2 separate regions of the Homo sapiens genome follow, and region 1 is linked to region 2. Evidence: promoter capture Hi-C in human tissues and cell types (Jung and others, 2019). All regions are on one chromosome and are shown on one strand. The core of a region is centred on a gene start or on the middle of the fragment in contact, and the rest is flanking DNA. Distances in the headings are between cores, read along the strand shown. Region 1 overlaps STK33 (serine/threonine kinase 33). Region 2 holds the start of RIC3 (RIC3 acetylcholine receptor chaperone).

Region 1 (4,158 bases), core at 30-2,529, 320 kb before region 2:
GATGCTGGCCTCATAAAATGAGTTAGGGAGGATTTTCTCTTTTTCTATTGATTGAAATCGTTTCAGAAGGAATGGTACCAGCTCCTGTTCATACCTCTGGTAGAATTCCACTGTGAATCCGTCTGGTCCTGGACATTTTTTGGTTGGTAGGCTGTTTATTATTGCCTCAATTTCAGAGCCTGTTATTGGTCTATTCAGAGATTGAACTTCTTCCTTGTTTAGTCTTGGGAGGGTGTATGTGTCCAGGAATTTATCAATTTTTTCTAGATTTTCTATTTTATTTGCATAGAGATGTTTACAGTATTCTCTGATGGTAGTTTGTATTTCTGTGTCATCGGTGGTGCTATCCCCTTTATCATCTTTATTGTGTCTATTTGATTCTTCTCTGTTTTCTTCTTTATTAGTCTTGCTAGCGGTCCATCAATTGTGTTGATCTTTTCAAAAAACCAGCTCCCAGATTCATTGATTTTTTGAAGGGTTTTTTGTGTCTCTATCTCCTTCAGTTCTGCTCTGATCTTAGTTATTTCTTGCCTTCTGCTAGTTATTGAATTTGTTTGCTCTTGCTTCTCTAGTTCTTTTAATTGTAATGTTAGGGTGTCAATTTTAGATCTTTCCTGCTTTCTCTTGTGGGCATTTAGTGCTATAAGTTTCCCTCTATACACTGCTTTAAATGTGTCCCAGAGATTCTGGTACGTTTTGTCTTCGTTCTCATTGGTTTCAAAGAACATCTTTATTTCTGCCTTCATTTCGTTATTTACCCAGTAGTCATTCAGAAGTAAGTTGTTCAGTTTCCATGCACTTTTCAGGATTTGAGTGAGTTTCTTAATCCTGAGTTCTAATTTGATTGCACTGTCATATGAGAGACAGTTTGTTGTGATTTCTGTTCTTTTACATTTGCTGAGGAGAGCTTTGCTTCCAACTATGTGGTCAATTTTGGAATAAGTGTGATGTGGTGCTGAGAAGAATGTATATTCTGTTGATTTGGGGTGGAGAGTTCTGTAGATGACTATTTAGTTGGCTTGGTGCACAGCTGAGTTCAAGTCCTGGATATCCTTGTTAACTTTCTGTCTCGTTGATCTGTCTAATATTGACAGTGGGGTGTTATAGTCTTCTGTTATTATTGTGTGGGAGTCTAAGTCTCTTTGTAGTTCTCTAATGACTTGCTTTATGAATCTGGGTGCTCTGGTATTGGGTACATATATAATTAGGATAGTTAGCTCTTCTTGTTGAATTGATCCCTTTACCATTATGTAGTGGCCTTCTTTGTCTCTTTTGATCTTTGTTGGTTTAAAGTCTGTTTTATCAGAGACTAGGATTGCAACCCCTGCTTTTTTTTTTGTTTTCCATTTGCTTGGTAGATCTTCCTCCATCCCTTTATTTTGAGCCTATGTGTGTCTCTGCACGTGAGATGGGTTTCCTGAATACAGCACACTGATGGGTCTTGACTCTTTATCTCATTGGCCAGTCTGTGTCTTTTAATTGGGGCATTTAGCCCATTTACATTTAAGGTTAATATTGTTATGTGTGAATTAGATCCTGTCATTATGATGTTAGCTGGTTATTTTGCCTGTTAGTTGATGCAGTTTCTTCCTAGCATTGATGGTCTTTACAATTTGGCGTGTTTTTGCAGTGGCTGGTACTGGTTGTTCCTTTCCGTGTTTGGTGCTTCCTTCAGGAGCTCTTTTAGGGCAGGCCTGGTGGTGACAAAATCTCTCAGCATTTGCTTGTCTAGAAAGGATTTTATTTCCTCTTCACTTGTGAAGCTTAGTTGGCTGGATATGAAATTCTGGGTTGAAAATTCTTTTCTTTAAGAATGTTGAATATTGGCTCTCACTCTCTTCTGGCTTGTAGAGTTTCTGCTGAGAGATCTGCTGTTAGTCTGATGGGCTTCCCTTTGTGAGTAACCTGACCTTTCTCTCTGGCTGCCCTTAACATTGTTTTCCTTCAATTCAATCTTGGTAAATCTGACAATTATGTGTCTTGGGGTTGCTCTTCTCAAGGAATATCTTTATGGTGTTCTCTGTATTTCCTGAATTTGAATGTTGGCCTGCCTTGCTAGGTTGGGGAAATTCTCCTGGATAATATCCTGAAGAGTGTTTTCCAACTTGGTTCCATTCTCCCTGTCACTTTCAGTTTCACCAATCAAACGTAGATTTGGTCTTTTCACCTAGTCCCATATTTCTTGGAGGCTTTGTTCATTTCTGTTTACTCTTTTTTCTCTAAACTTCTCCTCTTGCTTTATTTCATTCATTTGATCTTCAGTCACTGATACCCTTTCTTCCACTTGATCAAATCGGCTACTGAAGCTTGTACATGCATCATGTAGTTCTTGCGCCATGGTTTTCAGCTCCATCAGGTCATTTAAGTTCTTTTCTACACTGTTTATTCTAGTTAGCTATTCGTCTAATCTTTTTTCAAGGTTTTTAGCTTCCTTGCGATAGGTTCAAACATCCTCATTTAGCTTGGAGAAGTTTCTTATTCCTGACCTTCTGAAGCCTACTTCTGTCAACTTGTCAAAATCATTGTCTGTCCAGCTTTGTTCTGTTACTGGCGAGGAGCTGCAATCCTTTGGAGGAGAAGAGGTGCTCTGGTTTTTAGAATTTTCAGCTTTTCTATTCTGGTTTCTCCCCATCTTTGTGGTTTTTATCTACCTTTGGTCTTTGATGTTGGTGACCTACAGATGGGGTTTTGGTGTGGATATCCTTTTTGTTGATGTTGATCCTATTCCTTTCCGTTTGTTGGTTTTCCTTTTAACAGTCAGATCCCTTAGCTGCAGGTGTGTTGGAGTTTGCTGGAGGTCTACTCCAGACCGTGTTTCCCTGGGGATCACCAGCAGAGGCTGCAGAACAACAAAGATTGCAGAACAGCAAATATTTCTGCCTGATCCTTCTGGAAGCTTTGTTCCAGAGGGGCACCTGCCTGTATGAGGTGTCAATCAGCCCCCTACTGGAAGGTGTCTCCAGTTAGGCTACACAGGGGTCAGGGACCCACTTGAGGAGGTAGTCTGTCCGTTCTCAGAGCTCAAACACCATGCTGGGAGAACCACTGCTCTCTTCACAGCTGTGAGACGGGGACGTTTAAGTCTGCAGAAGTTTCTGCTGCCTTTTCTTCAGTTATGCCCTGCCCCCAGACGTGGAGTCTACAGAGGCAGCAGGCCTTGGTGAGCTGTGGTGCGCTCTGCCCAGTTCAAGCTTCCCTGACTGCTTTGTTTACCTACTCAAGCCTCAGCAATGGTGGACGCCCCTCCCCCTGCCAGGTTGCTGCCTCACAGATCCTTCTCAGACTGCTGTGCTGGCAGTGAGCAAGGCTCCATAGGCGTAGGACCTATCCAGCCATGCAGGGGATATAATCTCCTGGTGTGCCGTTTGCTAAGACCATTGGAAAAGTACAGTATTTAGGCAGGAGTGTCCTGTTTTTCCAGGTATGGTCTGTCACAGTTTCCCTTGGCTAGGAAAGGGAAATCCCTCGACCCCTGCACTTCCTGGGTGAGGCAACGCCTCGCCCTGCTTCGGCTCGCCCTCCATGGGCTGCACCCACTGTCCAACCCATCCCAATGAGATGAACCAGGTACCTCAGTTGGAAATGCAGAAATCACCCATCTTCTGCGTTGATCACAGTGGGAGCTGTAGACCAGAGCTGTTCCTATTCGGCCATCTTGGAATGGGATCCTGTGTTGTTTTTTTTTAATTGTTTACTTTTTGTCCCTCAAACTAGCTAATCTCAATCAATCTTCAGGTTTACTATTTCTTCTGCCTGCTCAAAACTGCAGTTGAGCCGCTGTAGTGAAGTTTTCATTTTAGTTATTATGCTTTTTAACTCCAGAATTGCTATTTAATTTAAAAAAATAATTTATGTATCACTAAGGTTTGAATGTGTCTCCCAAAAGTTTATGTGCTGGAAAGTTAATTGTCATTGTAACAGTATTAAGAGTTAGGACCTTTAAGAGGTGATTAGGTCATAAGAGCTCTGCCCTCATGAATATATTAATGCTATTATCATGGTTTAGTTATTACAGCCTTGGGGCTCCTGATAAAATGATGAGTTTGGCCTGGTTTCCTCACTCTCTCTTGCATGCTTGCTTACCATGTGATGCCTTCCACCATGAGATGATATTCACCAGGTGCTAGTGCCATGCTCTTCGACTTCCTAGTCTCTAGA
Region 2 (4,386 bases), core at 187-2,686:
TTTACTTTTTAAATGTGGCTACTGGAAAAATTTAAATTACATATGTGGCTGGTATTATGTGTCTATTGGACAGTGTTGTGTGCGTCTTACAAAATTGACATTTCTCATCTGCTGTCATGTTTTCTATCATTGCATTTAGTCTTGTAGTTTATATACTTTATTTCTTTATTTTCCTTTTTGGGCACTGTCCCAGGAAAGCAAAGATAAATGCATATGTTACATCTGTCATGTTTAACTGGAAGTTCTACCTAAGCTTTTCACAATGTAGCTCCTGCTTATATTTGTGCACTTCGTGTCCTGTCACTACTCTATGGCCCTGCCAAAATGAATTACCAATAGCTTTCTGAACACACCAGGAAGCTTCCAGATTTGCCTTTATTTTTTTGGCCTCCTTTTTCCGGAATACCTTTCTAACCCCTCCCACCTGTCTGCCTATAAGTTACTCATTTTTCAACAGCTAACTCAATTTCACCTTCTCAAAGGGGCTTTTCTTGACTTTTCCTCGTACCAGTTGAGAAGACTGCTCGGGGATCCAGAATATTTCCTGCATTTTTTTTGTTTGGATAATTATCTGTCCTACAAAGGGAATCCATTTTATTCATCAGACCCTGTAGTGCCAAGTTGAGGGTCTAATACATAGTAAAAACTAAAATAATGTTAAATGAACGAATGAAGAGAGTAACAAAGAACGGTGGGATTGTAGAGAAAGGAGAGGCTGACTGAAAACGTTTCGAGAGAGCAGTGTTTTTAAGCTGTTCTTCAGAGAAGTTTTTGACAACTGGAGATGGTGTCAGGAATTTTCCAGGCAGTGGGAACAGGACAAGCAAAGCTTCCCTGAAGACAAGCAATATGCTAAAGAAATAGCAAATCATCCAGTTTGGAAGGAGCATTGGTAAGACCAGATCATGCAGGGCGTTGAGGTTATAGAAAGGAGTTTAACTATTGTTCTGAAGATAATGGAGAGTTAAAAGGTTTAAGCTGGAGAGAAAGAGAATTAGTCTTGTGTTTTAGCATTATCACCTGTGGCTGCAGACGGATAATGAATGCGAGGGGCATGAGTGGAAGCTGGAAGACAGCGAGATCATGGAGATGAGGAGAAACTGGATGTTGTGATCTACGGGTGGGTGGGGGGCAGTGGTGGTAAGTGGGGATAGAGATCCGGGCACGACCGCCGGATGTGTAGGCGGTAGAATGCACAGGACTCAGTAAAAGATGAACATGGGGAGTGAGGGAGGAGTTTTTAGTTAGTATGAACGGGAAGGCGAGGGTACCATTTACAGCGACGGGTAACCACGCGGGAGGAGCAGGTCAACTCCCGACAGTGGAGGTGAAGATGCGTGCGCCTCGCGCACCTTGTCCCTCGCGCGACGCCGTCCGCGCCGCCCGCGGTTCGGTCGGGAGCGGCAGCCCGTGCTCCGGTTCCGGTTCCGGTTCCGGCTGGCGTCTGCACCTGCGACCACCGTGAGCAGTCATGGCGTACTCCACAGTGCAGAGAGTCGCTCTGGCTTCTGGGCTTGTCCTGGCTCTGTCGCTGCTGCTGCCCAAGGCCTTCCTGTCCCGCGGGAAGCGGCAGGAGCCGCCGCCGACACCTGAAGGTAAGAGCAGGCCAGCTCCCTCTGAGCTTCCCGGCGCCGAAGAGTACGGAGAACGCTGCTTGAGGGAGGGGTGACTCTGAGAGTCTGCAGCCTTCACCGAAATATCCACCAAACTGACTGGAGAGGGCGGGCGAGACGGCGTTGAAGGGCCAATGCCCACGGTTCCGTTGTTATCAGCGGGTGGCGGCCCAGATGGTTCTGCTGCTGGAAGGGTCAGGAACGTATGCATGCAGGTCTGTGCATCCTCTAGGTGGCCTTGCGTACTCCCGTTTAGGCGCAGTCCCTTCTCTCTTACCCCGCTGGCTTAACTCATCTCGTCACCATTTGTTCACGTGCTTTGAGTCAAGGGTTCCCAGTTGGGTTTCCCTCTTTAGGTTTTCCGTGTACTTTCTGACGCGCCGCTTGGTACGAAATCAAGGCAAATGGAATTGGTACAGCAAACCTTAAGTCGTTATGTTTTTTCAACTTGGTGCTGGGCGCTCACTGCTTCAGGCTCTTCTTGTGCCTTTAAAAATATATCTTGAAGATTTTAATAACCCCAGTTTCAGTTACTGAGGTGGTTATGAACAAATTATTACGTTCCCCTTATTGAAACAGTATTTATCTGTTAATTCTTCGTTGTTGGCATGATGTATGTGGTGTTTAAAAATTCATCCTCTTAGCTGCACTGGGGCCTTTTACAGAATGAGTGTAAAGGCACGGTGCTGAAGGCTGGGAGAAGGAACCAGAACAGTTTTCTATAGGTCATGAAGTTCTACTGGTAACTTTCTCCTGTAAATTATCCTTGTAATATCTTTGAGACATGATTTTACGGTGTCTGAACACTTCCAGTAATGTTTAAACTGTTGATTGCTGGACAGCTCCTTTTGAACTGTAATCCACTTCCGTCTGCTTTATGCACATTGACTGTAGTTCCATTCTCTTGAGCATCATACACACTATAAATGCAAAGCACCAAGCTTTAGGGGTGGAGGGCAGGTTGAACACATAATTCTGTTTACAGAATTTGCCTGATAATCTTTATGCTTGTAAGACTATCCACTTGGGACGGACTTCTAAAACATCTTTGCGTATTTGTTCTTTTTTTTTCCTTTCTGTCTTATTGCAATAATCCCAAAGATTTTTACCTGCTTTGTCTAATGATATTGTCTACTTTGAAGAAGAGTCAATTCATGATGATCCTGAACAGTGAAGATTCTTCGAAAACTTTTTTTTTTTTTTTTTTACTTTCCATTATGGTGAATTATCTTGAACAAGTACTATTGACTGTGAGTGGGAGACACTCTTCTGAACGTTGTAGAAAATGTAGAGTGGAGATTAGACATGGGTTGTTCCCTTGAGAACTCAAGTGTTGGTATTCAGTGTTCTCATGTTAGGATCTTTGTACCTTCAGTTCTCTTTATTCCTGAAGTGCTGTGCTTTTCCCTCAGTGCCCTTCTCATCATTCAAATTTCTGCTCAAATGAAACCTCCTCAGAGAGACTTCCCCTGATGACACTAACTAAAATAACTCTTTTCTCCCATCATTCTCTATTTTATCATGTTTTATATTCTTCATGATAGGCATCACTATATGATATGGAATATTCTTAAGTGTTTACTTGTTTGTTTTTTTGTCTTCACCTTCTAGAATGTAAGTTTGCAAGGGTAGGGACTTTGTCTTGTTTACCACTGTTTCTTCAGTACCTGGCATATAATGGGCAGTCAATAAATACTTTAAGATTATTAAGCTACCAATACTGTAAATTCTGTTTTTGACAAGGAGAAGCTACTGAAGTAGTATAACCTAGGAAAAAACTTACCTTGAATGGTACATTCCAGTAACTGAAACTTGCAGCAAAAAATCTTAACCATTTTGGGGTTACATACACCATTGAGAATCTTATAAAAGCTATGTATTTTCTTTCTTTCTCTCTCCTTCCTCCCTCTGTCCCTCCCTCCCTCCTTTCCTCTCTTCCTGGCCCCCTTTCCCTTTCTCTTTCCCTTTCCCTGGGTCTCACTCTGTCACCCAGGCTGGAGTGCAGAGTCATGATCACAGCTCACTGCAGCCTCTACTTCTAGGGCTCAACTGATCCTCCCACCTCAGCCTCCCAAGTAACTGGGACTACAGGCACATGCCACCATGCCTGGCTAATTAAAAAAAATTTTTTTTGTTTTTGGTTGAGATGGGGGTCTCATTGTATTGTCCAGGCTGGTGTCGAACTCGTGGGTTCAAGTGATCCTTCTGCCTCAGCCTTCCAAAGTGCTGGGATTACAGGCTTGAGCAACTGCACTCAGCCTAAAACTGTATGTTCTCTCTAGAAAAAGGTACATACTCTTATTGTACTCAGAATTTCAGTATCAATTCAGAGAATTCTCAGAACCCAGAAATCCCTGCTTTGAAGAAAGGAATAACCCTGAGTATTTGAAAATTCTTAAAAATACATGTTGTTATGTCTTCCATTTTTGCCCATTGATGTGCATGAAACAAGCACAGTTCCCTTTCCACATGAAAGCCTTTAAGATAGTCTTTTAACAAATATTTATGATGTACCATATCACATACTGTGCACATAGTGTATAGACACTATGTATTCCAAGAAAAAATGAGCGAACTCCATGCTTTGAGGCGGCCACAGTTTAGTAAAGGAAAGTAGACATGTCAACAGATAAATGCAAAACAGACATGTTAGCAGATAAATGCAAGAGTGTCAGTCACAGTTACTCAAGTCTGCGCAGGGAACAATGGAGACATGTATGCAATGGTCAGTGTTATTGGGACTTAAGAAGGGTTTCATAAACCAGGTGTGACA

What was found. The method cuts DNA at HindIII sites, captures the fragments that hold promoters and counts their contacts. A contact is called where the count stands out against the background at its distance.
Region 1: a contact is called between a fragment that was not itself captured here and the fragment with the promoter of RIC3 in region 2, in 2 of the 25 tissues and cell types used here (adrenal gland and pancreas).

Annotation. Positions count from the first base shown.
Region 1 is chr11:8,489,452-8,493,609 of GRCh38, reverse strand. All of the region lies in intron 1 of STK33 (serine/threonine kinase 33), which reads left to right. Among named protein-coding and RNA genes, the nearest start is that of STK33, 100 kb to the left of the region's middle. The HindIII fragment of the contact is 7,301 bases long and covers 1-4,158 here.
Region 2 is chr11:8,166,075-8,170,460 of GRCh38, reverse strand. It overlaps RIC3 (RIC3 acetylcholine receptor chaperone), which reads left to right and starts at 1,436. Exons shown (of 6, transcript NM_001206671.4): 1 at 1,436-1,595. The coding sequence starts at 1,472. It overlaps RIC3-DT (RIC3 divergent transcript), which reads right to left and starts at 1,391. Exons shown (of 5, transcript NR_187234.1): 1 at 1,272-1,391; 2 at 473-576. The HindIII fragment of the contact is 6,174 bases long and covers 596-4,386 here.